Linked DNA regions of Homo sapiens: all the other regions are linked to region 2. Evidence: promoter capture Hi-C in 16 types of primary human blood cells and fetal thymus (Javierre and others, 2016). All regions are on one chromosome and are shown on one strand. Each heading gives the region's core, a stretch centred on a gene start or on the middle of the fragment in contact. The rest is flanking DNA. Distances are from core to core; before and after follow the strand shown.

Region 1 (3,704 bases), core at 809-3,308, 400 kb before region 2:
GGACTCTGGGTACAATGCAGTACAGTAGATCTCTAGGCCTTACACATCTTGCTTGACTGGAACTTTATGTTCATTGAACAGTAACTTTCCATTTCCCCTTTTCCCACAGCCTCTGGAAACCACCATTCCACTCTTTGATTCTATGAATTTGCCTATTTTAAATACCTTGTATAAGCAGAATTATGCAGTATTTGTCTTTCTGTGATCGGCTTATTTCATTTAGCATAATGTCTTCAGGGTTGAATCTATTTTAGATACCTCATATAAGCAGAATCATGCAGTATTTGTCTTTCTGTGATTGGCTTATTTTATTTAGCATAACGTCTTCGAGGTTTATTCACGTTGCGTATTGCAGAATTTCGTCCTTTTTAAAGGCTGAATGGAATTCCAGTGTTTGCACATACCAATTTCTTTTTGTATTTATCTGTCAACGGACATTTAGGTAGTTTCCACATTCTGGCTATTGTGACTCCTGCTGCAATGACCACAGGAGTGTTAACATCTCTTTGAGATCCCAATTTCAATTCTTTTGGATAAATACCCTGAAGTGAGATTGTTGGCTCATATGGTAATTCTATTTTTAATTCTTTGAGGAATCTCCATACTGTTTTCCATAGTGGCTGCGTCATTTTGCATTTTCCCAACAGCGTGCAATGGTTCCAGCTCCTCTATATCCTCACCAATACTAGTTGTCTTTTTTTTTTTTTGATAGTAGCCATCCTGAGTGGTGTGAAGTGATGTCTCATGGCTTTGATCTGCATTTCCCTTATGGCTAGTGACTTTGAGCATTTTTTCATATACCTGATGGCCGTTTGTACGTCTACTTTAGAGAAATGTCTATAGAAATCCTTAGCCCATTTTTAAATTAAAAAAAATTATTTTTTACAGTTGAGTTGTAGGACTTCCTTATATATTTTGGAGGCTAACCCTTTATCAGATATATGATTTACAATTCTTTCTCCCATTCAGTAGGTTGTATTTTCACTCTGTTGTTTCTTTTGCTGTGCAAAAGCTTTTTAGTAAGACTAAACTTCTGATCTTTGCTAACTTAAATAAGTAAAAAATAAGTAATTTAATAAGCATTTTTGAATTATGAATGGTGTAAGCATGTAAACACACCAGTAACAGTAAAATCCATTAAAAAACACAACACTTATTTAGTGCTTACCATGTACTCTGTGCTAGACACTATTTTACGTGATTTACAGGTATGGATTTTTTTAAAACTTAAATCCATTAGCTAGGTGCTATTGTCACTCCATTGTGCATAAGCAGAATTTGAGGCACAGAGAGGTCAAGTCACCAGCCCAAGTTCACACAGCTAATAAATGATAGAACCAGAATCTGAACCCAGGCAGGCTGGATCCAAAATTCATTGTCTTAAACCTCTACTATGCTGCATTAAAGGATTTTGTAATAGGTCTTGGTATGAGGTAAATAAGGGGAAATTTCCTGCCTTAGCATGTAGATAAAGAAACTCTAGGATCAGGGAACAAAGGGGAGGGGAAATGAAGATAACTTTTTCAGTATTTAGTCTCTGATGACCTTAAGACCTGGGATAAGAATAAAGCAAACTAGGCAGGGCGCTGTGGCTCACTCCTGTAATCCCAGCACTTTGGGAGGCCGAGGTGGGTGGATCACCTGAGGTCAGGAGTCGGAGACCAGCCTGGCTAACATGGTGAAACTCCATCTCTGCTAAAAATACAAAAAATTAGCCGGACGTGGTGGCGTACGCCTGTAATCCCAGCTATTCAGGAGGCGGAGGCAGGAGAATCTCTTGAATCCAGGAGACGGAGGTTGCAGTGAGCCAAGATCAGACCACTGCTCTCCAGCTTGGGCAACAAGAGCAAAACTCCATCTAAAAAGAAAAGAAAAACAAAAAAAGAATAAAGCAGAATAATAATTTAAAAATACTTAAAATCAAACCAAAGTTTCCCAAGTAACTAGATTTTAAAATCCTATTTAATAGAAAAGAAAACGGTGACTTTTTTTTTTTTTTCAAAGCCTTCTGAGGTGGACTTTTGAAATGATAAAGGTGTTTTGGGTTATCCTTCCTCAGACTCTGTTTTCACCCAGCATGTCTGAGAGCCTTGCAGGCACAGTGGTATCAGGACACACTGCTGGTCGTGGTTTGCAGATGTTTTCCTGGCGTAATTCACATCAGGATGCAGTGTGTGGGCAGCTCCTGTTTCCTTAGGTGTCTTCAGAATTTTTCCTCTGCAGCTGGAGCAGGTGGTTGCAGATTAGACTCACACCCTGTGGACCGCCCAGTGCCTCTGCTTCTGTCTCACTCAGAGATGCGTCAGAACGGTCAGACTCAGAGATGCGTCTGCACCGTGGCACCAAGTGATGCTGTTCTGAACCCAGTGTTTCCCCTCTGCCTGAAGAGAGATTACAGCTCAAAATCTTTTAATCCTCAAGAGAGAAGAGGTGGCCCCTGTGAAGGAAGGAGGGCTGCAGGACTACCTCTGTCTTCTCTCTTCATCTCTGATACCTCCCTTCATGCAACTTGGAATATATGTTTATTTTCAGGGGCCAGAAACTCTTTTTAAAGAGGAGCAAGAGGGCCGGGCACGGTGGCTCATGCCTGTAATCCCAGCACTTTGGGAGGCTGAGGTGGGTGGATCACGAGGTCAGGAGTTCAAGACCAGTCTGGCCAACATGGTGAAACCCCATCTCTACTAAAAATACAAAAATTAGCTGGGTGTGGTGGCGGGTGCCTGTAATCCCAGCTACTAAGGAGGCTGAGGCAGGAGAATCGTTTGAACCCGGGAGGTGGAGGTCGTAGTGAGCCGAGATCATGCCATTGCATTGCATTGCACTGCAGCCTGGGTAATAGGGCGAGACTCTGTCTCAAAAAAAAAAAAAAAAGGGAGGAAGAGGAGGCTCATCTGATCATCTGCAATGTCAAGGATGGGCTCCTTCCCACCTACACAGCTGAGTACATCCCAGACACCTGCCTCATGCCTTCCACCTACTGCCTGTTCCTTTGAGACCAAAGAAAATCAGAAGAGCCCTCTGCTGTACGAAGGACTAGGCAGTGTCTATGTCATTATGCAAAATGGACCATGCAGAGCCCAAGCCAGAGACACATATCAAGCTTTGGAGAGGTGTGTCAGGACGCAAAGGATGCAAAGCTTCAGCTGTGATGCTTAAGAATTAACAAGTGTCATATGTTCTGAGACAGAAGGAACCATGATTTTAGCCAATGGGATAAAATCCTGCCAGAGGATAGGGTCAAGAGAGGGTTCCTATTTAGCAAATCAAAGGGAAGAATTTTAATGCTTCAATTCTCTGGATTATAGTGATGCTATGTGTTGAGGCGGAAGATAGGAACAAAGGGGTCTTTGAAGATGGAAAATGCAGATTGCACCCAGAGGCCTCTGAGGGATGGCCTGGCAGGGAGAGGCCCTCTAAGGATTGCCCCAGTAAAGAATGAGTCATAGCTGACCTCAGGGCCGCTGGAGCCACAGCTGACCCACAGTGGGTTTTCCTCTTGGGAAGAATTCCAGACCCCTTATTTCTCCTTGAGAGAATTCCAAGAGCCCAGGTTTCATCAACACCATCATCCCCTGACTCCCTTGTGGTTTTCACGGGGATGCATGTTCAACTTTTTCTCAGAGCAAAGATGTATTTATGCTGTTTAAAAATATATGCACACAGTTTTATGTATAATGTGGCATCATAACTTGTAGGGCATTTAC
Region 2 (4,027 bases), core at 67-2,566:
TACGTTATTTGTTTTCTTACTACAGGTATTGAGTTGTTTGAGTTTCCTCTATACTTTGGATATTAACCCTTTATCAGATATGTGGTTTATAAATATTTTCTCCCATTCAGCGGTTTGCGTCTTCACTCAGTTTAGTGTTTTATTGGCTGTGCAGAAGCTTTTTAGTTTGATGTAATCCCACTTGTCTATTTTTGCTGATGCTTTTGGATTCATGTTCACAATATCACAATATTGGCCAGGCAAAAGTCATGGAGTTTCCTCTGTTTTCTTCTTATAGTTTTATCATTTTGAGTCTTTCTTACATTTCAGTCTTTTAATCCATTCTAAGTTGGTTTTTGTATATAATGTGAGACAATGGTCTAATTTCATTTCTTCTGAATGTGAATGTGGTCAAATGATTTTCAACAAGGGTGACAAGACTATTTACAAATGGTTAAGATGGTTAATGTAAATGGTTCATAAATTTTATGGTATGTATATTTTACCACAATTAAAAATTTGTAACTATAAACATGTGTAGGAGACCCAAACTTTTCTGAAATAGAAGATATATATGTATATATGCTGGTTTATATTTGCAGAAGCAAGGATAAAGGTGTCAAAGAATGTGCACCAAATTCTTAATATTGATTACCTCTAGAGCATTAGTTTTGGAAGAGATGTGTGCATCTTCCAGGAAGGGAAAAGACACTAATTTTTCTTTATATACCTCTGTACTCTTTGACTTGTTACAATGTGTACTCATTACTAGCACATATGTTTAATTTAATAGAGTCAGAAAACAATCTACAAGCAAAAGTCATTAAAGATTTTAGTTAGCAATTTGTACATTCACTATTACTGAAGGCAAGAATATTAGATAGAGCTCTGAGGATCCTATAACTTGCACAAATTGATCATAGAAAGGCATACTTGGTTTGAAAGTTGATACATCAGGTTGTAGTTCATGTTTTGATGACACTAATGTTAGTCTTTCCAAGTCTGGACAAATTGTTTATAAAATCATGATCATAGTTAAGTGACCATTTAAGGAAAAATGATCAGTTAAGATAAATTCTGCCTAAAGGTTATCAAAGGACAACTATGACAAAACGTGCCAGGGCGACACTTGGCTCAAGGCTAGTCTGTCATGTGACTTGCATAAAGAGGCACTTCGGTGCTTGGCTTCCATGATGAGCCTTCACTTCGCCCAGAGGGCAAAGAAGAAACATAATGAGACTTAATTGTACAATGGAAAAAGGCTATTGAAATGCTATTTATAACTTTATAAACACCTCAGGTATTAGCCAGAGACTCACACTGAAATTGACATCAAGAAAAGGTGTTGGGTAAATATGCAGCTCTAGGGAACATATCAAAGGACAGATATAGAAGGTACAGCCCAAACTCAGAAACCTCTCTTAACACAGCTCTCAACCCAACTCCTGACACCATGGCCAGCTGTTCCACCAGTGGGACCTGTGGCTCCAGCTGCTGCCAGCCAAGCTGCTGTGAAACTAGCTGCTGCCAGCCAAGCTGCTGCCAGACCAGCTCCTGCGGAACCGGCTGTGGCATTGGTGGTGGCATTGGCTATGGCCAGGAGGGCAGCGGTGGATCTGTGAGCACCCGTATCAGGTGGTGCCACCCAGATTGCCACGTGGAGGGCACCTGCCTGCCCCCCTGCTACCTGGTAAGCTGCACACCCCCATCCTGCTGCCAGCTGCACCACGCCGAGGCCTCCTGCTGCCGCCCGTCCTACTGTGGACAGTCCTGCTGCCGCCCAGCCTGCTGCTGCCACTGCTGTGAGCCCACCTGCTAAAAGCCAGGTTGCTGATCGCTTAAGAATGAAAGGGGAAGCACAGCAAAATTGTGCTGATTTCTGAAGAACTGTTCGATTTTACTTGGATGCTAAGTACCATGATGTTGTTAAGCTGCTCAGAGATAATGAAACTCCTAGTTAGGACACTGTGGATGTGCCGAATTCACTTACTGAAAGATGTATCAATCAGTGTTCTGGATAGCTTGCGTTGCTTGAGCAGAGGACCAGGATGGAATAGTTCATCATTTCAGTGACATCTCTGCTCCCCCAACTCTCTCTTGATGCTCATGCATCTTCAGACCTGGTTTTTCCTTGAATATCTCTGATTAATCCAAATAAAATGTTTTAATGTGCAAAGCAAACTGAGTTATGTCCTCCTTCTACCTTTAAACATGTCTTCTTGTAGCTGGTATTCAAGAGTGGATTTGCAATTTGATAATAATACCAAGGCATAACCATAAAGTCTAAACCAGAAAGATTAAATACAAAGTAAATTATGCTTGAATCCATCAGCTTAAAAATGCTCCATGAATTAAAGAATTTTTATAGTTCAAATATTTACATGCTCTAATCTATTATGATTAGGTCTAGACCAATAAAGGTTGACCTTTAGCTAAAATGTTAAGGTTGATCAAAGCTATTGATTTCTATCTAAATGTAATTCTACCATCTTTTGTCTCCTTCCATTTAATATACTAAATGTTCTCCTTCATTTATGCCCCAAAATCTAAAGAAATTGCATTACCTTCTAAATAGATTTAAAAATAGCTACTAGATACTACCTATTTTCCAAGAGAATTTAGGTTTAATTTCTACACCTTAGCCTTTCACATTCTTCCCACTGATCCTTGAATTGCTCTCTAAGCTTCAACTCCCACTATTCACCTTCATTTGATGTACGTATGCATAAGGTGTATCTTTGGTCTAAATGATAGTAGAAGAAACAGCTATAGAGAGCACCCGCTGAGTTCTACCATTGCCATTTGTCAGACAGAAGTGTTAGAAATCTGAAACAGCTCGATTATATTTTGCACTTTGCAACCCAACTTAAAAGATATTCTCTTAAGAAGTTAACACGCTGGACACGGTGGCTTACGCCTGTAATCCCAGCACTTTGGGAGGCTGAGATGGGTGGATCACGAGGTCAGGAGATTGAGACCATCCTGACTAATATGGTGAAACCCAGTCTTTACTAAAAATACAAAAAAAAAATTAGTCAGGTGTGGTCGTGGGTGCCTGCAGTCCCAGCTACTTGGGAGGCTGAGGCAGGAGTATGGCGTGAACCTGGGAGGCAGAGCTTGCAGTGAGCCAAGATCACGCCACTGCACTCCAGCCTGGGCAACAAGCAAGACTCTGTCTCAAAAAAAAAAATTAACACAACCTAGAACAAAACAAAACATATTTTACCATTTAATTTTTAAATTCTTCATTAGGCATTAGAGTGTAATACACAAAATACAATAGGATGCAAATATAGAAAGAAACACGTTTTCCACATTATTTACAAGCTCCCAGAACTTACCTCTATATTTAATTGGTAGCAATGATGGATTACACACAAAATTATGCAATTTCCAAGAGGAATAAAGTAGATGGCAGTACATTTTTCAAAGTGTCATAACTCCTAGATATTTTTTCCCGAGCCCGGTTCCACTACTAAATCCAAAAAATAAAATAAAATAAACCAAAAAACACATTTCCTAGTCTCTTTACAGCAAATAACAAGACTCTTTCATGAGAAGTACTACAGCTTGAAAGTTCTCTTTAATCATGTTTGAGTGGTATTGATATCCATGAATCAAGCCTTTTACTCCACCTATTCAATAAACATTTATTGAATCAGATTCAGTAAACATTTATTAAGGTTCTACCACAAACTAAGGACTCTGCTGGATACCTTCCTAAATACTATGTCAGTTTGGTTCCCAAGAACAGATTTCTGGTCTGGAACAGGAATAATAGTCACACATTCCAAATTGGTTGAAATCAAAGGAACTATAATCGGTAATTCAATAAGACATTGGAACAAAAAAAGGTGAAATCTGCGAATTATGTATGACCAAAGGTATTCCTTCAGTTCAGTAGATATCCAGATATCCAAAATTCAATAAAATTTAGTCTATATATCTAGGAGGAAAAAATAATAGTTAAATATAACAGCACAATTATTACTCTTAGCCTTAGAGGTATGGATAGATTGTCACGTGGAATAACTATTATGTAAAATGA
Region 3 (4,084 bases), core at 1,139-3,638, 430 kb before region 2:
TCTCAGGCAAGACAATGTCAGGGACCATGGAAAAATAAGGAATCAATCTAAGAGACACTGTGATGGACCTGACTTGGCAATGGATTGGCCATGGCAGGTAAAGAGGAGAGAGCTGGGGACAGGAATCTTGAACACCTTTCTGAACCTCACCCTCCAAACACACAGTTCTTCCTTAATGAGCTGAGATGATGTTTCTATTAAGTATCCTCCCTCTGGCCTTGCCAAGAAATGATGAAAAATGGATTGGATCCTGAAGCTGCCTGCAGGCTGCTCTCCAGACATGATCCTGCAGGCATCCCTGGCAGACAAGGTCATTAGCCTGACAGCAGGGACATGAACATACTGCTTAGCAAGCTGTGGTTCCTGGTTGATGGATGGGTAAAATTTCAAGGAGCTGAAATGCCAAGAGAGAGGGGTTCTGGCTAATTGAATTTTCTCATAACTGCGTGCAAACCAGCAATCTTTAATTTCAACCCCGGTGCAAAACTTTTCTGGAATGTGCTCAGCTTGATAAACAACACACAGAACAGACCAAAGCTTTGGTTCTATAATCCTAGACCTGTTCTGTCCAATATGGTAGTTCATAACGACATGTGGCTGCATATACTGAAACATTCGGTATATGAATGTTTCATATACTGAATTGCACTGAGTTGCACTCGTCACACGTGGCTAAGTGGTAGTAAATAAGACAACACAGACATGGACTATTTCCAACACTGCAGAAAGTTCTACTGGACAGAGCTGTCTTAGACTGTCAGAACTAGAAGGAGCCTTCCAGATGATCTGGCTCAGCTTTCCCAGTTTTACAGAAGAGTCATCTCAGACCCAGGGAGGTGGACAGATGTGCTCACAGACACAACCAACAGGTGGAAATTGAAGCCAAGGGTTTTGACGCCAAGCCTCTTAGGTCTCTCCAAGCACTTTATGCTTTCTCCAAGCACCCTAGGTTTATTATTATTTCAGGCTAATACATATTTCCCCTCTCCTTTTCTTTCATTTCCCAAAGAAGGGAGACATTTTCTCTGAGAAGCTGAAACTTCTTCCTGGGAATATAGTTCTCTTAAAAAGCATCGCTAGCAACTACCAGACTCAGCATCTCCTCTTTCTTTGAGCACTGGGCTCAGTAAGAGCAAAGACCTTGAGCTGCAGCCCAGAGCCTCAGCAGGAATGATTGCACAGGAGTTGTGGGCCAGAAGTCCTGGACCCTGGACCCCCTGGGGACTTCCAGAGTCTCCGTTTCCCCAGTGCATATTGTTTCAGTCCAACTCGGTCCCCATTCCCACACCTGTGTGTCTCTCCCACTTGCCAAGACCTGTCTGACTCCCAAGATGACTGTTAAAGCTTTTTATATGAAACCAAGCCCCACAGCCCAGGGCCAGGAGTACCCTCCTCTGCTAGAAGTGAGGCCCATCATCTTCTGTGTCTGGATGGTACTTCAAGCCAGAGGTGTCACGAGCTACCCTCCTGCCTAGCCTGTCTCTTATTTGATGGATGAAGAAGCCGTGGGCATAGACTTTGGGAGATATTTATCCCCCACCAGCACCGGAATCTCCTGGGAACTGGACTCAGTGTACCACTCATGGAGATTCTCAGAGGAACTCTCTCCTCATATCAAAGCATTTGCATCTAATTAACTCTTTATAGGGGAAGAGTTTATAGGGAAATGTAGGCAGGACCCTGGTCAAGTCATAAAACCTCTGTCATATTTGATGTTTTGGAGAAACCCTCACAGGTATCAGGGATCCTCTCTGAGCGGGATTGGAAAAGAAAAGGGTGTGCTTTTTAAAGACACCACTTTCCCCAAGGCTATTCAAGAGTTTGGGCCTCACCCCTGCTGCTCACTGCCCTAGTGCAAAGCACCCTCTTCTGGGGGTGAGAGTGAGGGCCCATGGGCAGAACTGCCATTCAAGGAAGACTGGCCAGAGGGCGACAGCTTCCCGAAAGATCCAGGAGTTGGGTTTGGCATCTGGGAGTTGGGGCTGTGTGTGGACTCTGAATTGCACTGACTGAATCTTTCTTCACCACTATATTAGGAAACCTTTTAGAGAGTGATCAAAAAAAGAATATGCCTCTTCCAGGGTATAACCAGGAAAATCATTAATAATAAAACAATATTCTTTTTGTATTTCATAATTTTTTTTTCTTTTGGAGAGAGAGTCTCGCCCCGTAGCCCAGGCTGGAGTGCAGTGGCATGATCTTGGCTCACTGCAACCTCTGCCTCCTGGGTTCAAGTGATTCTTGTGCCTCAGCCTCCTGAGTAGCTAGGACCACAGGCACATGCCACCATGCCTGGCTAATTTTTGTATTTTTAGTAGAAATGGGGTTTCACCATGTTGGCCAGGCTGGTCTCGAACTCTTGACCTCAGGTGATTCACCCACCTTGGCCTTCCAAACTGCTGGGATTACAGGCGTGAGCCACTGCACCCGGCCTGTATTTCATAAAATGTAACACTTGAATGCAATGATATCAATTCGGCTAAACAGAAAGTTCCTAAGATCATTTGATGTCTATCTTTTTGCCCAACTGATCAAGACAAATTTGTATTTAAATAGCAGTGTCCCTTAATCATAATATGTAAACAAAGTCACCAATGAGCATCTAGGATTAATGGAGAAGATCAGTGCCTTTGGCTTCAGAAAAACTGGGCTAGACCCCCAGTTCTGCTGCTAATGTGCTGTGTGATTTTGGCAGAACTCTTAATCTCTATGCATCTCAGTCTTCTCCCCTTTAGAAATGGGAGTAATTCTACCTTTTTCACAGAGTTGTTGGGATATAGTACATATAAAAATGCCTGTCATGATGCCTGGCATATTGTAGGTGCCTGATGAATGTTGAGTAAAGAAAACATGCTTTGGCAACAAATTTCTCTTCTCTTCTGACTTTCCCCAATTACAATGGCAGCTGAGTCATATTTTGGAGCCATTCTGAAGCCCAAGTTTCAGAAACAACAACAGCAGCAGCAGCAGCAGCAACAACAACATATGGGTAGCTTTGCTTTGCTCTAAGAGCATTGGATGAACTTCCAGTCTTGGTGTAAATGCCCTGGTAGAGTGAAGGCCCTGGTGTCTGAGGCTCAGCGTCCAGTCCTGGAGTTCACCATCCATTCCCAGGTGCCCTCCCTCTGCCCAGCCCTCTGGCTCCAGAGCGGACTGAAGGTCTCCCACATGCTTAAGGGGTCCAATTTTTAAGCCTCATTCACTGTGCTGTGTGAAGCAGGGATGGCAACTACAGCTCACAGGTCAAACCCCACTGCTACTTGTTTTGGTAAATCAAGTTTTATTGGAGCATAGCCACACCCATTCATTTCCCTGTTGTCTATGTCTGCTTTGTGCTACAATGGCAGAGCTAAGTAGTTGCAGTACAAAGAGAGTATACGACTTGCAAAGCCTAAAATATTTAGCATCTGTCTTTTTAACAGAAAAAGCTTGTCCATCTTGGTGCAGAGGAAACAGAATGTGCTAGGGGCCCTGGGACCAGTCCTGGCTCTGTATCTGACTTGCTTGGCATCCCTGGGGAGCTCACTGTCCTTCTCTGGTCTCTGAAGCACGAAAGGTTGAATTAGTACTTGGAAGTTTTCTTTAGTTCTAATAACTTAGCAGTCTTTGCTCTATTGCTCTTTAGGGATTCCTGAGGCTCTTATCAGAGAATTTTACTTTTTTGGGTATTGAAGGTCAGTGGAGAGGACGATTCATCTTAGAGCCAATGCCATTCCTAGAGAGAGGCCAGATAGTCACTCAAGGAACAAAGTCTAACTTTTCAATGGGGCATCTCTAAAGAGAAAACATTTAACATTTCTTTTCACAACAGAAGGCAGTAACAAGAAGTCCAAAGTCAGCCCTTTCTTTCATAAAGTGGGGAGCTACTTCTGAGGACTGAATAACTGCTGATGGGTTGTTCTGATGGCAGAACAAATGAGGATTCATTGGGGGAAAGCTTGTGTATCACATCTGCTCCTATGGCAGGTGAATAAAAGCTCTGGGTGAGGAAACACTCACACCTGAGCACCTGGCCCTTGTCACCAATCTGCAACTCAACTGTCTAGGACCATGGCTTCTAGTTAAAGCAGAAATCCCTGCTCCT
Region 4 (4,155 bases), core at 379-2,878, 380 kb before region 2:
AACCATGAGCAGGTGTGTGACCCTTGGTGTGATGCATTGAGACTTTCTGGAGGTGAATTCAGGCTCATCTGGGGGGAAAAAACGGAGGCTTCCTTCTGCTTGGGATTGAAGCTTTGCAGGTGAGCTCTGGCTTTTGGTGGGAGATTGCTTCTCATCCACAGCTTCTGGAAGCTGCTAGGCTGGTGCAGGCAGCGGTTTATCTTCAGAGGAGCACAGGGAAATTACTGGGGAGGATGGAAAGTGGGAGTTGAGAGTTTGGGTGAAGGGCAGTTGGGGGCCCTGCAGGCGGGTCATACTCCTCTGATGCCTACAGGAAGCCCACACTCTAAGGGGTCAGCTGGGAGACAAGCTCCGGATAGAGCTGGACATTGAGCCCACCATTGACCTGAGTAGAGTTCTGGGGGAGACGTGAGGCCAGTACGAGGCCATGGTGGAGACCAATCGCCAGGATGTGGAGCAGTGGTTCCAAGCCCAGGTGAGGGGGACTGCTAAGCAGTGGGGATTGGCCTCCATCTGGGCAGGTAGGTGACCATGTTTCTCTATGCTCCAGTCTGAAGGCATCAGCCTGCAGGCCATGTCCTGCTCTGAGGAGCTGCAGTGCTGCCAGTCAGAGATCCTGGAGTTGAGACGCTCGGTGAACGCCCTGGAGGTGGAGCTTCAGGCTCAGCACACACTGGTGAGTCCCTCTGCACGCATGGGAGACCCAGCTTGGCTCCCACTACCCATGAGTAGCTCTCTGGGGTCAGTACAGGCCTCGAATACCAACCACGGACTCAGCTTAAACCTTGGTTTCAACTCTTTTGGAAGCACTTCCCTGTAGATGTGGATGCTGAGTGAATCAACATTAACTTAGGTCAGAGGGCTCTGATCTTAAAGGTCTACCATGAAGTGTGTTAGTTATTCTGGCTGAAGACAGCTAAAGGGAGTTAGATTGCTCTCTGGACCTGGCAATGTCTTGGGGTGTCACAATCTTAAGAGGTTGGAGATCCATGATTTTTAACTTGCTTCCTCCTTTCTTTGATATTATAGAAGGACTGTCTACAGAACTCCCTGTGTGAAGCCGAGGACCGCTACCGCACAGAGCTGGCCCAGATGCAGAGCCTCATCAACAATGTGGAGGAACAGCTGTCTGAGATCCGGGCTGACCTGGAGCGGCAGAACCAGGAGTACCAGGTGCTGCTGGATGTGAAGGCCCGGCTGCAGAATGAGATTGCCACATACCGGAACCTTCTGGAGAGTGAGGACTGCAAGTACGTACCCTGTTGTCTATGTCAACACCGTGTGCAAAAACAGATAACTTCTCTTGGGAATGACCTAAAAGGAGCTCTGGAGGCCAGGTGGGGGTGGCATTGCAGATCCCATCTTTGGAGACAAACTTGCTACCACTAGGCCTGGTGAGCTAATGCCTGCCTAGGCGTAGGTGAGGGTGTACAGGAGTTTTCAGGTCATGGCATTTGTTTTGCTGACCACGTTGTGCTCCCAGTTGCTGGCTACTCCCATAGAGGGCTAAAATACTGAATGCCCAGCACATTCAGGTTTTGCTAAATTCTCTCCAGGAGAAGTATTCCAATAACGAGTATTCTTTGTGCTCATAGCATTTAAAGTATTGCTAAGGGCATGTGCACTGACTCTTTCATTTTAGTTCCACAATAGCCCTGTGAAAAGCATCAGAGGGCTGATATACCCCTTTAAGCACTAAGGAACACTATGAGGGGCTGTGTTTAAATGGAATCAGTGGCTGACATCTGGACCATTCTTGTTCCTCTGGCCTTTCTGCCTTTCTCTCTGCTGTGTTCCTTCCATATGGGACGTGACCCTGGCCTGGCACACAGGTACACTGAGTTCTGGCCCCAGCTCCACTGTGGACTGTGGGCACGTCATTGCCCCTTTCAGGCTTAGAGGGACCTCTAAGGTCTAAGGTCCTCTTTTGCACTTTAATTCTAAAGTGTCTATAATATACTTTTGTCTTTCACATACTTCTCATGCCAATGTTTCAAACACCTTTTTTCTCTATGCAGATTTCCCTGCAACCCGTGTGCAACCCCAGCCTTCAGCACTCCTAGTCCAGCCCCTGCAGCCTGCGCCCCCTGCTCCCGGGCCACCCATGGGCCCTGCTCATCAACTGGATACTGACACACTCCTCAGCCCGAGGTGCTGGGAAAGGGGAGGTGTCTTCAGCTCGTTAGGCTTTGCTCTGCAGGCCTGCTAACCTGGGCCTTGCCTCCCTGGCCAGCCAGGCAGGAGACTGAAGAGAGACAGTGCCACTCTGTGGATAGGTGTTTGAATCCAGCAGCTCAGCCCCTATGGCTGGATTTGTTTCTTCCCCTCAAGGTGTCCCAAGTGCTCCATTTTCTCTCTTCTGTTGCCTCCTGATCTCTCTGAGATGGGGCAGGCACTTTTGTTTTTATTTTGCTATTAAACTTCGCTTCTGCAGCAGAATGAGCCCAGTGCAGTCCAGCCTCAGCATCTCCGTCCCATGCTGAGAGCCTTGCTGGGAACTCCTTGAGCCACATGCTTCTGTAGACGGGGGTTGTGGCTGGCTCGCCAGAGTGGTTCTGGGAGATGGCAAAGCCAGTGAAGGCTAGAGTTAAAAATGGGACTGCGGCAAAGTGGCACAGAGGAGAGATACCCAACCTTGGACCTCACCAAGTGTATTTGGAGACAGATTTACAGATAGAGCTTTTAAAATATAGACGCTAAGTAAAATTTCCCTTTTATCTGGATAAGCCACCTGGTCCTTGTGTAAAGGAAGAGCTCAAATCTGCGGCACCACAGACCGTTGCAAAACTCTGAAAATATTAACTGATGGTAATCGCCATCAGTCTAGAAAGGCCCAAACAACCTGACCCGTCCAAGCTCCCCAGTAAGCTCCACTGGTAAGTCCTGGCAGCTGTCTGGCTTGGAATTTGTAGACAGTAGAACATGAATCAGAAGCCCCAGAACAGGTAACTTAAATTGAGCTTTTAGGATGACATGCCCATTATGAACAAGGCACTGGCTGGGGCTTCGCCGACATTGTGTCACAGGGCACCACATCAGCCCTGCAAAGAAGAAGCAGCTGTTATTATTCTCAGTTGGTTACTGAGTCAAGACTTGAAACCTAGTCTCTTTGAACCAGATCCAAAGCCCGTTCTTTGGAAGCTTTGAGGGGGAAACAAATTAAACATGAGAAGGTTTAGGACAGTGGTTCTTAAAGCGTGGTCCGCCAGCAGGTAGCACTGGCATTACCTGAGAACTTGCTAGACATGCACATTCTTGAGCACCACCCCTGACTTACTGAACCAGCATTCTGCTTTAGCATGACTTGCAGGTGATTCTGATGTTGGTTCAAGTTTGAGAAACACTGGGTTAGGAAGTTTATTTGAGGAATGAGCCCTTGACTAGCTAGACCCTCTACAGAAAGGGCTGGCCTTGCCGTCCTGATATGTCCTCCAGTGAGGAATCCCTCATACCATCAGATCAGGATAGAGCCTTTCTCTTTTACATTGCAAAACTCTGAAAATGTTACATGATAGTTATTTCTATCAGTCTAGAAAGGCCCAAACAAGCTGACCCATCCAACCTCCCCAGTAACCCCCATTGGTGAGTCCTTATGGCAACTGTCTGTCTTGGAATTTGCAGATGGTAGAACATGAATCAAAAGCTCCATATTTTGATAGCCGTGGCTGAGAATCAGCACATCTCCAGAATTCAGCATCACAGCTGGCCAGAGAAGAGAAGCAGTGAGTTCCCTATCCTTGGAGACAAGCAGAGGCTTCAGAATCACTGATGGGGATGTTGAGGGGAACACTTAGGGAACTGATGGGGCTGGTTGAGATGGCTGTAGCCCCCCTAACTCTGTGCGTCCCTGCTTTCTATGTCTTATTGATCAGTGAAACCACAGGCATTGAAGTGGAACCACCAAATCTACTTTAGGAGCTGGTTTTGGTCTTCCCTTTCCCTCTGTGAATTCTCTGAATCACTGTAGTTTGCTGAAAAATTTACAAGTACAGCTGGTTCTGGTTTAATCCAGGTCTTCCTGATACAGCGGTGTGGTGCTGGAGTGACCACAGTCCCGAGCCCCAAGGCTGGAGGGAGCTTAAGTGAGAATCTTGTTGCTCTGCCTCCAACTGCTCTCAAGCCCAGCGTCCTACTTGTTGGTCACTGCTCATGTAC
Region 5 (3,936 bases), core at 1,313-3,812, 490 kb before region 2:
GGCCAGCTCCACAGATGGCCCCATCTGGCTGCAGTGGGCAAAGGTCAGAAACTGGCACAGCATCCTGGGCAGGCTGCCTGGGGCAGGGCCCGGGGCTACAGCCTGGGCTGGGGCCAGACAGAGCTTTATCTTCGCAAGGCCATCCCACCTGGTGCTAATGAGGAGGCTCCGGGCCCCACCCAGATCTGGAGCTCACAGTAGCGGTTTGGACTGAAACCAGGGATTTGTGCGTGGGGCAGTGAGGGGGGCAGCTGCCGCCCCTGGCCTGGGCCTGAGAGTATAGAGAAAGCCACCTCGAGGGGCTGCTGGAGGAGAGTCAGGTGCAGAAGGGGATCTGGCTGGGGTCCAGCCCTTCCTCACCCTGGGGTGAAAGGCGAGTAATTGTTCTTGAGTTAATTGCTGGGGCCACAATGTCTGCAGAGGCTTTTAATGAGCTCTGGATGATCTGAGTTTGATTATTTTTCTTTCGGAGGAAAAGACAATACCCTCCCACCCATGAGACAATACCACACTGTCTGTGCCCAGCATTGGAGGCCAGGCTCACTGCGAAGATGGATGAGAAGGAACCCACCCCCAGCCTTGCTGGCTGGCAGTTCCCCTTGCCAGCCCAGCTCAGATGCAGGAATTTGGGGTCTGCAGGAAGGACTCTTTCCCTGTGCCCTGTTTGGTTGAGGGTGTGAGGACCTGTTTGAGTCCTGGCTTTGCCCCTTACCAGTGGTGCCACCTGGCACAAGTTGCTTCACCTCTCCAAGTTTCAATTTCATTCTTTCTGAATCTTGGGTGGGGGTCACCCTCTGTTGTGAGGATGAGAGGAGGTGATGGATGCAAAAGTGCTTTGTAAATCACAAAGTGCAGGGTAGAAGTAAAGGATTATGCTATTATAGCAAAATAAGAACCTAAGAACAACCTGCGTTGCCCCATAGGAGCTGGCTATGGAAGGTCGATGCCGTTGAGCCTAAGAACATGCTCAGGCTCACAGGGCATGTTCTGATGCCCAACGACAAAGCCCCTCCTGGTGAGGGCACTCAGGCGCAGGTGCCGGTCATGCACCCTGGCCCCTGCATGTCTGGCACCTGGGTGGGGATCCAGGAGGGGGCAGGATGGGGGCTCTTGGGCCACAGGGCTTCCCTGGAAGTGAGAGTTGAGAGCGCCCCTTGCCACAGGGAAACAGAGACTTAAAAAGGTAAATGTCCACAGTCTTACCATGGTAATTGGTAGGGTCAGGATTTGAACCCAGGCCTCACAGTCTTACCATGATAATTGATAAAGCCAGGATTCAAACCCGGGCCTGAGGGACTCCAGAGCCCTGTCCACTTCACCATGCTGCAACCTGGGCTAGGAATCCTCCTCCTGAGTTTCTGTAAGCCCTGGGGCCAGGTCCAGAGGGCTGAGCCACACCTCCAAGTGGCACTGCCCACAGGTATCAGGTGTCCCTGGAAAGGTGTCCCTGAGCTGGTGGCAGAGAAAAGGGCTCTCCTGAGTGTTCAACTCCCCGTCTGTGTGAAGCAATGCCTTGGTCTTCAAGATCTCCGGTGTCTTCCAGCCTGCCTGCCAGTCTCCCTTCTCTTCCCTTCCACAGCATTCAGGCACATAGAGCCTTCTGCAGCGGCCCGTCCCCAGCCAGCACTTGACAGGACAGATGGGGGCTAATCTGGCCCTGCTAAGCAGCGACATGCCTCTCCTGGAGAAGGCAGGGGCTTCCTGGAACTTGCCCCAGCCTTATCAGCGGAGGTTTGCCCCAACACATCCCAGAAACGAGCAAAGGTTCAGCGCCGTGCAGTTGGCAGGTGTCGGGATCATCAGTCATCCCCTTGTCAGTCCCAAGCCTGCTGGGCTTTTGTGAGGGTGCCAGGAACACAGGCTGGAGGATGGCAGGAGGGGAGTAGAGGTGGGAGGAGGGGAGTCCATCTGCAGCACCAGGTAAGGGGATGGATGCTGGCTCCTCTGGTCACCTCAGCTGGAACACTACTCAAGGTCCCTGGCTCCTGTCCTCCACCTGCCCCCAGGGGCCCTGCATTCCCATCCCCAGGGCCTCCACTCTCCCTGAGCCCTGCAGTCTCTCACTCACTCACTCACTCACTCATTCACTCACTCACTCACTCACAGGGTTTTGAGTTGGATAACACAGCATAATGATCGGCCAGTGGACTCCCAAACTAAGAACACGGAGCTGTCCTCTTGGGGAGAGGCTCAGGGCTCGGGGAAGTGAAGTCCAGCTGAGGGCACAGTTGGCCTGAGCTGCTCTCAGTACAGGCAGAGGCCTTGGTAGCTGTGCTGTGATGAGAGTTCGCTCCCTGCTGCTCTCTTCTGGCATGGAGAGATGAACCTGTAATCCAAGTGTTAAAACCGTGCCCTGGGGAAAAACACTATTAATTCTGAATCATCTCTTTTGTTGCATTAAAAAAAAATAGAAGAGAAAAACTTCACATGACCCACTCAAGGTGTGCAGGCAGCTGTGTTTGTCAGGAAGGCAGAAGGAGTTGGCTTTGCTTTAGGGGAGGAGACGAGGTCCCACAACACCCTCTGAAGGGTATATAAGGAGCCCCAGCGTGCAGCCTGGCCTGGTACCTCCTGCCAGCATCTCTTGGGTTTGCTGAGAACTCACGGGCTCCAGCTACCTGGCCATGACCACCACATTTCTGCAAACTTCTTCCTCCACCTTTGGGGGTGGCTCAACCCGAGGGGGTTCCCTCCTGGCTGGGGGAGGTGGCTTTGGTGGGGGGAGTCTCTCTGGGGGAGGTGGAAGCCGAAGTATCTCAGCTTCTTCTGCTAGGTTTGTCTCTTCAGGGTCAGGAGGAGGATATGGGGGTGGCATGAGGGTCTGTGGCTTTGGTGGAGGGGCTGGTAGTGTTTTCGGTGGAGGCTTTGGAGGGGGCGTTGGTGGGGGTTTTGGTGGTGGCTTTGGTGGTGGCGATGGTGGTCTCCTCTCTGGCAATGAGAAAATTACCATGCAGAACCTCAATGACCGCCTGGCCTCCTACCTGGACAAGGTACGTGCCCTGGAGGAGGCCAATGCTGACCTGGAGGTGAAGATCCATGACTGGTACCAGAAGCAGACCCCAACCAGCCCAGAATGCGACTACAGCCAATACTTCAAGACCATTGAAGAGCTCCGGGACAAGGTGAGTCCTCGGATGTCAAAGAGAGGGGAGCAGGTGGCTGGTACCCTGTACACAGCTCTAATGTCAGTGTTACTGCTGACTCAAGGAAATCCTTTCCTGCCCAGGCAATGACTGTCTGGTATGTAATCTCAGCAAATTTGGAATGCACCTGCTGTCCAGGTGCAGAGGCCAGTGCACATCTTCTCAACTTGGTGGTGCTGGGGGAGGGAGAGAGGGGTCTTGGGAATCTGGTTAGGACCAACAGGGGCACAGGTGGGGGCAATTATAAAGAGCCAGAGGCAGTAGCTCACACCTGTAATCCCAGTGCTTTGGGGGGCCAAGGTGATAGGATTGCTCGTGTCCAGGATTTAGAGGCTGCAGTGAGCTATGACTGTGCCACTGCACTCCGGCCTAGGTGACAGAGTGGAACCTGTATCTAATTAAATAAAAATAATTAAAAAAAAAGAGCAACTCGCCCTCCCTACCTCATGCACCCTGCAGGCTTCTGCATAAAGTATTCCTTTACCTCTTTTGCAAGAATGGGATTGGAGTGTGGCCTCATGAGTTCCAGATGCTAGAACCTCTTGTCTTTTCCTATAAAGAGGTCTTTTGTGCCAAAAGTACTGTTGGGTCTTAGGAGACCTGGGAACTCATTACACATTCTGCCACCCACTCACTCACCATTTTACTCCCTAAGACTGGGTTCCTCATTCGTAAAATGCCTTCTTAACTGCCCTCCAGGTTGCTACTGGCTGGAATGTTCTGTAGATCCATGGCTGTGTCCAAGGTGTGCAGGAGGCAGTGACCATGAGTTGTCCACAGTGGGGCTGGTGGA
Region 6 (3,928 bases), core at 1,056-3,555, 440 kb before region 2:
ATTTCCTTTTTTACTGTTTTGTTTGTTTGCTTGTTTTACTTTGTCTTTAATATTGGAAGCTTCCTTCAAGTATCTGGTCATCCTTTTGTTTATATTTTATGACGAGACACTAAAAAGCTGATAGAAGGTGCTACGTGGATGGGCAGGTTGGAAAACCGGCTTTTTGCATGGTACAACCACCTCAGTTCAGTTTCTGTAAGTCTTTTCTCTGGAGTTTTATTTTTTTTCCAAAGAAGGAGCCTCTGGTTTTCTGCGGGGGAATGAATGGAGGGAGACAGTGCTGGCCCAGGCTGTGACACACATCCTATCTGCTTTTGTTGAAACAGGCCCTTCCTCCTGGATTCTTTGCATCCCTTTCTCTTCTCTTCCTAAACTTATTTTCCTGATAGTTTGCTCTGGCCCCAGAGAGGTTGGGGTACAGTGGAAAGTCTTTGGATCAGCCAGACCTGGGCCTGAGAACTGACAGTGCCCCACTTTCTCTGTGGCTACCTTTCCTAGACCCTACTTCTCCATCTTCACGACATACCCCAGATCTGGCATATTGCCTGGAACTGTGGTCTTCTGTGACTTTGGATGCTGCTGCTACTACCTTTATCAATCCGCTCTTTTTTTTTTTTTGAGACGGAGTCTCGCTCTGTGGCCCAGGCTGGAGTACACTGGCGCAATCTCGGCTCACTGCAAGCTCTTCCTCCCGGGTTCACGCCATTCTCCTGCCTCAGCCTCCCAAGTAGCTGGGACTACAGGTGCTCGCCACCAAGCCCAGCTAATTTTTTTGCATTTTTAGTAGAGACGGGGTTTCACCGTGTTAGCCAGGATGGTCTTGATCTCCTGACCTCGTGATCTGCCCGCCTGGGCATCCCAAAGTGCTGGGATTATAGGTGTGAGCCACTGCACCTGGCCTCAATCTGCTTTTATATGAAACCTGGTCTTTCCTTCACAACGGAAAACTCTGCTCACGCTGGCATTTGGGACTGCACCTCACAGCGACAGCCTCTCAGCATCATCCTGGAGCCCCTGCTCCTGGTTCCTGTCTCTCTCCTCCTCATTCCTTCCTTCCAGGATTGTCCTGTGAACTTCAAATCCTTCTCTCCTTTCACCCTCTGATGTCTTACCAGCCAAATCAAGGCATTAGGGTCCCACCTTTTAACCCAAGATCTTCTTAATGTAGTTTCCCAAGTAAAGACATTTTTTTTCCTGCAAGATGAATTCTGGTGACAGCTGTTAAAATATATGCAGGCACACTTCGATTTATTGAGTTTCAATTTATTATACTTCCCAGATATCGTTTTTTTTTCTTTTTTCTTTCTTTTTTTTTTTTTTTTTTTACAAATTAAAGTTTTGTGCCAATCCTGCCTAGAGCAAGTCTGTTGGTGCTAATTTTTCCAACAGCATGTGCTTATGTGTCTCTGTGTCACATTTTGGTAATTCTCACAATACAAATTTTTTCTTTTTCTTTTTTTTTGAGACAGAATCTGGCTGTCTGCCCAGGCTGGAGTGCAGTGGCGTGATCTCGGCTCACTGCAACCTCTGCCTCCTGGGTTCAAGCAATTCTCGTGCCTCAGCCTCCCAAGTAGCTGGGATTACAGGCACACCACGCCTGGCTAATTTTTGTAATTTCAGTAGAGATGGGGTTTCGTCATGTTGGCCAGGCTGGTCTCGAACTCTTGACCTCAAGTGATCTGCCCACCTCAGCCTCCCAAAGTGCTGGGATTACAGGTGTGAGCCACTGCGGCTGGCCAAACTTTTTCATTATTGTATGTGTTATGGTGATCTGTGGTCAGTAATCTTTGATATTACTGTTGTAATTGTTCTGGGATGCACCAAACCATGCCCAGATAAGATGGGGAACCTAACTGATAAACGTTGCGTGCGTTCTGATGGCTCCACCAACTGGCCATTCCCCCATCTCTCTCCCTATTTTGGGTCTACCTATTTTCTGAGACACAGCAATATTGAAATTAGGCCAATTAATAACCCTACCGTGGCTTCTAAGAGTTCAAGTGAAAGGAAAAGTTGCAGGTTTCTCCCTTTAAATAAAAAGCTAGAAATGATGAAGTTTAGGGAGGCGGCATCTTTCATAGCTAGACAGGAGGAGTCTGCCTTCAAAACCTTCAAAGGATGGGCTGACTCTCTTGCTAGGAGCTAATGCAGCTGATGACTTCAAGTGGGAAGTCAATGCTCATTTACCATTCTGAATATCCTAGGGCACTTAAGAATGATGCTAAATCTTTTCTGCCTGTGCACTACAAACGGAACGACAAAGCCTGGACGACAGTGCATCTGTTTATAACATGGTTTACTGAATATTTTAAGCCCACTGTTGAGACCTACTGCTTAGAATAAAAGGTTTCTTTCAAAATATTTCTGCTCATTGACAATGCATCTGATCACCCAAGAGCCCTGATGGAGCTGTCCAAGGAGATTAATGTTTTTGTGTTTGCCAACACAACATCCATTCCACAGCCCATGGATCAAAAACTAATTTTGACTTTCAAGTCTTATTACCTAAGAAATATATTTCATAAGGCTATAGCTGCCATACAGAGTGATTCCTCTGATGGATCTGGGCAAAGTAAATTGAAAACCTTCTGAAGAGGATTCACTATTCTATATGTCAATATTTGTGATTCAAGAGAGGAGGTCAAAATATCAACATTAACAGGAGTTTGGAAGAAGTTGATTCCAACTCTCATGTATGATGTTGAGGGGCTTAAGACTTCAGCAGAGGAAGTAACTATAGATGTGTTGGAAACAGCAAGAGAATTAAAATTAGAATTGGAGCCTGAAGATGTGACTGAATTGTTGCCATGTTATGGCAAAACGAACGGATGAGGAACTGCTTCTTATTCATGAACAAAGAAAGTGGTTTCTTGAGATGGAAACTACTCCTGGTGAAGATGCTGTGAACATCACTGAAATGGCAACAAAGGATTTGGAATACTACATCAATTTAGTTAATAAGGCAGTGGCAGGGTTTGAGAGGACTGACCCTAGTTTTGAAAGAATTTCTACTGTTAAAATGCTATCAAACAGCATCACATGCTACAGGGAAATCTTTCATGAAAGGAAGAGTCAACTGATGCGGCAAACTTCACTGATGTCTCATTTTCAGAAATTGCCACAGCCACACTAACTTGCAGCAATCATCACCCTGATCAGTCCTCAGCCATCAACATTGAGGCAAGACCTTCCACCAGCAAAAAGATTATAACTTGCTGAAGGCTCAGATGATCCTTAGCATTTTTAGCAATAAAGCATTTTTAAAATTAAGTTATATACATTGTTTTTAGGCCATAATGCTATGGTACACTTAATAGACTATAGTATAGTGTAAATATAATGTTTACATACACAGAAAAACCAAAAAGTTTGTGTGACTCACTTTATGGTTACATTTGCTTTATTGTGGTGGTCTAGAACTGAACATGCACTATCTCTGAGGTATGCCTGTATCTTCCTCTATCTCAGTGGGTCTCCAAACCACCTGAAGGACATGCTAAACACAGGCTGCTGCATCCCAGCCCCAGCCTCAGAGTTTCTGATTCAGCCAGTCTGGGATGAGCCTGAAAAACTGCATTTCTTTTTTTTTTACATTTTATTTTTATTTTTATCAAAGCAGTGTATCTACATTGTTTAAATAAAACAACATTAAATAGCAAATATTTAAAAACTGCAACATCTATGCCTTCTTTCTTTCTTTATTGTTATTATACTTTAAGTTTTAGGGTACATGTGCACAATGTGCAGGTTAGTTACATATGTATACATGTGCCATGCTGGTGTGCTGCACCCACTAACTCGTCATCTAGCATTAGGTATATCTCCCAATGCTATCTCTCCCCCGTCCCCCCACCCCACAACAAATGAGAACACATGGACACAGGAAGGGGAACATCACACTCTTTTTTTTAAAAATTTTACTTTAAGT
Region 7 (4,278 bases), core at 1,525-4,024, 340 kb before region 2:
TCTAATTACCTGTTCTCTGTTGTCTTGTTAGCTGTCTTCCCCTTTTTGTCCCAAATGAAGGAAACACCTATATTCTTAGCCCTCTGTCTTTCTCTTTCTACGTCCCTGTTCGTGTAGATCTAGCTCCTCTATGCTGATGACTGCCACATCTCCCTCTCATCTCAGCTCAGTTTCCAGGTTTTCTGTTGCGCATATGACAGCTTCACTTGGTATCAGGTCATTACATCATGTTTAATTGGACTAAAACGTATTTTTCCCAAACTGGTTCATCTTGCCGCCCACTTGTTATGCCTGACATGTTGTCCTCCAGATAGACCCTTTAAATGCAGTCCTTACCTTTCCCCTCTTCAAGTTTATTCTTTCCCCTAGATCTTTGGTCTTATCCATAATGTTCTTCCATAGCCTCTTTATCATTTCATTTTCTATAATTCCAAGAAAGGCCAATGTTCATTAAACATCTCCCCCAAAACATTAATCTTACCCCACACCCCACCCCACTTGCCTCATCCCTGAATTTTTAAAGCTTTCAATTTTATAGGCCAGTCTCAATTATCCATTTTATTTAATCCTATCTGATTGACACAACTGCAATCAATCATCTATAGTGTGTGCTGGGTACTGTGGGCGGTACTGAGAAACACAAATAAGTGAATCCCAGTCTCGGCCCACAGCATGTTTTACAGTTTAGAGTGGATGAGACAAAGCTACAGTCATCATAGACAAATATCAGTGTGGCTCAAGAAAGGTGCAGATAAAGAATTACGAATTTCAGATGTGTGAGAGAATGAAAAGAAGAGGCTCCAAGAAGGAGGGAGCACTCAATCAAAGCCTTGAAAACCCAAATGTTCTGTTGATATAAATTTTGTCTGCCTGTCTTGTTGACTGCAGGCCCTTCAGCAGAGGCAATATCATCACCTAATTAAAGACGATGTAAACCATGGAATACTGTAAGTGGAATAAATAAGGAAGAGTAACACTAATGAAAATTCATGAGAAGGTTATTAAAACTTTATATACTTCCCATAGTTTCAACTTCAATCAATGATTACTGTATGATATTAGCATAATTCTGAAATAAAGTTTGCTGGGAAATGTCTGGTCAGGTGAGTGTGTTTAGGCCATAGAAGAGGGAAAGTTTTGGCCAGGTGCAGTGGCTCACGCCTGTAATCCCAGCACTTTGGGAGGCTGAGGCAGGTGGATCACGAGGTCAGGAGATTGAGACCATCCTGGCTAACACGGTGAAACCCCATCTGTATTGAAAATACAAAAAAAAAAAAAAAAAAAAATTAGCCAGGCATGGTGGCACACACCTGTAGTCCCAGCTACTCAGGAGGCTGAGGCAGGGGAATAGCTTGAACCCAGGAGGCGGAGGTTGCAGTGAGCCAAGATCGTGCCACTGCACTCCAGCCTGGATGATAGAGTGAGACTCTGTCTCAAAAAAAAAAAAGAAGAGGGAAAGTTTTCCTGAGCATGAACTTTGCCTGGAGGAGTTATGAGGTGTGTTTAGAAATTGACAACCCAATCCCTAGCCTAGAACAGAGGGTAAGTGTGGTTATAGGAGATGAAACTGCAAGGTAGTTAGGTACGGCCATATTTGGAAGTGCTCCGAATGATTATACATGAGATTTTCTTGTAAGGGAGTTTGCCATATGATATATCTGGCAGCTGTGTACAGGTTGGGTTGTGAGGAGTCCTAGAAGCTGGATGAAATAGAAGGAAGATCAATTAAGAGGTGAGAGACAATAAGGACTGAGATAAGTGGAGGAGAGTGAGGCCAAAGAGGGGTAGGTTTTAGAGGCATGGCTTAAATATGGAAGCTGAGTAGAGATAGAGGAACAATGGAAAGAAAAGGAAGGAAACTAGTACTGATCACACACTGTATTAGGGTTATCCAGAGAAACAGAAACAGTAGGCTATGTATAGATACATAGAAAGAGATTTATTATAAGGAATTAGCTTATATGATTATGGAGGCTGAGAAGTTTCATAATCTGCTGTCTTCAAGGTGGAGGCCCAGGAAAGCCAGTGGTATAATTCCAATCCAAACCCAAAGGACTGAGAATCAGGAAGGCTGGTGGTGTAAGTCCTGGTTTGAGACTGAAGGCTCAAGAACTGGGAGCATTGATGTTAGAGGGCAGGAGAAGATGGATGTCCCAGCTCAACTCTATTCCCATTGGGAGTGCAGGACTGAGTGTAAGAGAAACAGTGATGGCTCTGGAGAGGGTTTGTGGAACTAGATCCCGAGTTCCGTTTTGAGGTGTCCGTGTCTGTCTTTGCTCAGCATAGCTTACTACTGACCTGGCCTATTCTCCAGACCCTCTCCTGCTTCTCCCTTACCGGTCAATGAGAGAAATAATTTGCCTTTCTTCTACTTTTTGGTTCTATTTGACTACCCACATTGGAGGACACCTGCCCACATTGGTGAGGGTGATCTTTACTCACTCTCCTGATTCAAATGCTGATCTCTTTTAGAAACACCTTTACACACATACCCAGAAATAATGTTTTACCAGCTATCTGGGCATCCCTTGGCCCAGTCAAGTTGATACATTAAATTAACCATCACAAACACCTACTATGGGTCTGAAGATTTTCAGCCTGAGAAAATGAAACAACAATGAGTTTCCATTGGAGAGACCTGGAGAAGAATAACTAGATTTGAGGGAGATGTCGGAGAGCTGGGTAAATAAAGATGATAATTAGAGCTATAGGAATTGTTAAGACTGTCCAATGGAGGCTAGCAGGGAATAGAAGAACCTTGAGGACCACTGATAGAAACCACAGACTTCAGCTGGGGCTCTCCAAAGTCCCTGATGTGAGGTTCAGCCTTGGTTTTGCCAGATCTTGAGGACAGAGATGACATCTGGTTGCAAGCAGTTTGAGAGGGAAGTGGAGAAGCACCTTAAAGGACACAGAAGTCAAAAGAAGTTGGAGCTCTAATGAAAGAGTTGTCAACAGCATCCAGGGCAAGGATGGTGAGAATCAGACAAATCTACTGGTTAAAGCAATGGGGAGACTCCTGGTGATTATAAAGAGAACAGAGTCTGTGGGAGGCTGAGGGAAGAAGCTGTATTTCCATGTTTTTTTCATGTCTGTCTCAAATCACCAACGTGATAGTGAGTGTAATGCAAAAGTTCAACACAACACATTTGTACTCAGCTGACTTTGCTTTATCTTCTGTGTACTGTCAAAAGGTTTTAGCATCTGCCCTCTCCCTTGATCTGCAGAGCAGGACACATATATAGGTTTTCATTCCATCTCTGAGTGGGCCCTGGATCCAGCTTTTTCAGGAAGACTAGCACCATTAAATTACATCGTCCTGGATTGTGTCATGCTCTTGTCTATTCTAGACTGAGTTGATAGTCTAGAGTAGTCAAAAACATAGCATAGATCTCGTGGGAGCTGAATGATGAGAACACGTGGACATATAGAGGGGAACAACACACACTGGAGCCTTCTGGAGGGTAGAGGGTGGGAGGAGGGAGAGGATCAGGAAAAATAACTAATGGGTACTAGGCTTAATACCTGGGTGATGAAATAATCTGTAAAACAAACTCCCATGACACAAGTTTATCTATGTAACAAACCTGCACTTGTATCCCTCAACTTAAAATAAAAGTTAAAAAAAAACACATAGCATAGATGAACTTTGTATTTTTCTGACTTGGCTTGGTCCCTGAAGACTCCAAGACTCCATTCCCATTGGGAGTCCAAGACTGAGTGTAAGAGAAACATGGTGGCTCTGGAGAGGATTTGTAGAACTACCTCCTGAGTTCCATTTTGAGGTGTTTGTATCTGTTTTTGCTCAGCGTAGCTTACTGCTGACCTGGCTCATTCTTCAGCCCCTCTCCTGCTTGTCCCTTATCAGAAGCCCCATTGAACAGGGCCAAACTTGTTGGCTTATTTCCTGAATTACCCCTTCAATTTCTCCTCTCAATGTCCTGAGGCTGGAGGATTGATAAATTGACAACAGTTGCCTTTATGGAACAGTTTGTGGAAGCCCTATCTTCTGCTCTTCTAGGAAGCTCTAACAGGCTGGCCCAAAACCATGGGCTGGGGTTGTTATTGGACAGTCTTTCTGCTTTTCTAATTCCCCTCTGGGATCCCTCTTTGGCAAAAAGTCCATCTTCTTGCTCTGTGTGCATGTAGTGATACTGCTCCTGGCCTCTCCTTCTCATTTGTACATATTAAAATATAATTAATTTTCAAGTAGCCCAATGTAACTTCGTATTTCTAAAAGAATAAATTTTACATTTCTCACGGTGACAATTTCAAGCA

What was found. Contacts are between HindIII fragments. The CHiCAGO score rates a contact against its expected background, and 5 or more counts as called.
Region 1: a fragment that was not itself captured here is called in contact with the fragment with the promoter of KRTAP1-4 in region 2 in 1 of 17 cell types (non-activated CD4 T cells); the score reaches 6.2 in non-activated CD4 T cells.
Region 3: a fragment that was not itself captured here is called in contact with the fragment with the promoter of KRTAP1-4 in region 2 in 1 of 17 cell types (total CD8 T cells); the score reaches 5.3 in total CD8 T cells.
Region 4: a contact is called between a fragment that was not itself captured here and the fragment with the promoter of KRTAP1-4 in region 2, in 1 of 17 cell types (total B cells). The highest score is 5.6, in total B cells.
Region 5: a contact is called between the fragment with the promoter of KRT15 here and the fragment with the promoter of KRTAP1-4 in region 2, in 3 of 17 cell types (non-activated CD4 T cells, naive CD8 T cells and total CD8 T cells). The highest score is 5.6, in non-activated CD4 T cells.
Region 6: a fragment that was not itself captured here is called in contact with the fragment with the promoter of KRTAP1-4 in region 2 in 1 of 17 cell types (naive CD4 T cells); the score reaches 5.8 in naive CD4 T cells.
Region 7: a fragment that was not itself captured here is called in contact with the fragment with the promoter of KRTAP1-4 in region 2 in 1 of 17 cell types (total B cells); the score reaches 6.1 in total B cells.

The regions. Positions count from the first base shown.
Region 1 is chr17:41,428,474-41,432,177 of GRCh38, reverse strand. No RefSeq gene overlaps it. Among named protein-coding and RNA genes, the nearest start is that of KRT37, 5.7 kb to the right of the region's middle. The HindIII fragment of the contact is 2,088 bases long and covers 1,015-3,102 here.
Region 2 is chr17:41,027,484-41,031,510 of GRCh38, reverse strand. It overlaps KRTAP1-4 (keratin associated protein 1-4), which reads left to right and starts at 1,316. Exons shown (of 1, transcript NM_001257305.2): 1 at 1,316-2,160. The coding sequence starts at 1,433. The coding sequence ends at 1,798. RefSeq lists an enhancer at 1,677-2,226. The HindIII fragment of the contact is 2,506 bases long and covers 160-2,665 here.
Region 3 is chr17:41,454,242-41,458,325 of GRCh38, reverse strand. No RefSeq gene overlaps it. Among named protein-coding and RNA genes, the nearest start is that of KRT32, 11 kb to the left of the region's middle. The HindIII fragment of the contact is 2,084 bases long and covers 1,347-3,430 here.
Region 4 is chr17:41,404,490-41,408,644 of GRCh38, reverse strand. LOC100505782 (a long non-coding RNA gene) reads right to left here. Exons shown (of 3, transcript NR_040111.1): 2 at 1-224. It also overlaps the pseudogene KRT41P. Among named protein-coding and RNA genes, the nearest start is that of KRT31, 9.0 kb to the right of the region's middle. RefSeq lists an enhancer at 3,756-4,155. The HindIII fragment of the contact is 3,030 bases long and covers 114-3,143 here.
Region 5 is chr17:41,517,516-41,521,451 of GRCh38, reverse strand. It overlaps KRT15 (keratin 15), which reads left to right and starts at 2,562. Exons shown (of 8, transcript NM_002275.4): 1 at 2,562-3,122. The coding sequence starts at 2,625. RefSeq lists enhancers at 1-109, 1,223-2,222, 3,927-3,936. The HindIII fragment of the contact is 23,808 bases long and covers 1-3,936 here.
Region 6 is chr17:41,470,317-41,474,244 of GRCh38, reverse strand. No RefSeq gene overlaps it. Among named protein-coding and RNA genes, the nearest start is that of KRT32, 4.9 kb to the right of the region's middle. The HindIII fragment of the contact is 4,488 bases long and covers 62-3,928 here.
Region 7 is chr17:41,372,885-41,377,162 of GRCh38, reverse strand. No RefSeq gene overlaps it. Among named protein-coding and RNA genes, the nearest start is that of KRT33B, 5.2 kb to the right of the region's middle. The HindIII fragment of the contact is 4,497 bases long and covers 526-4,278 here.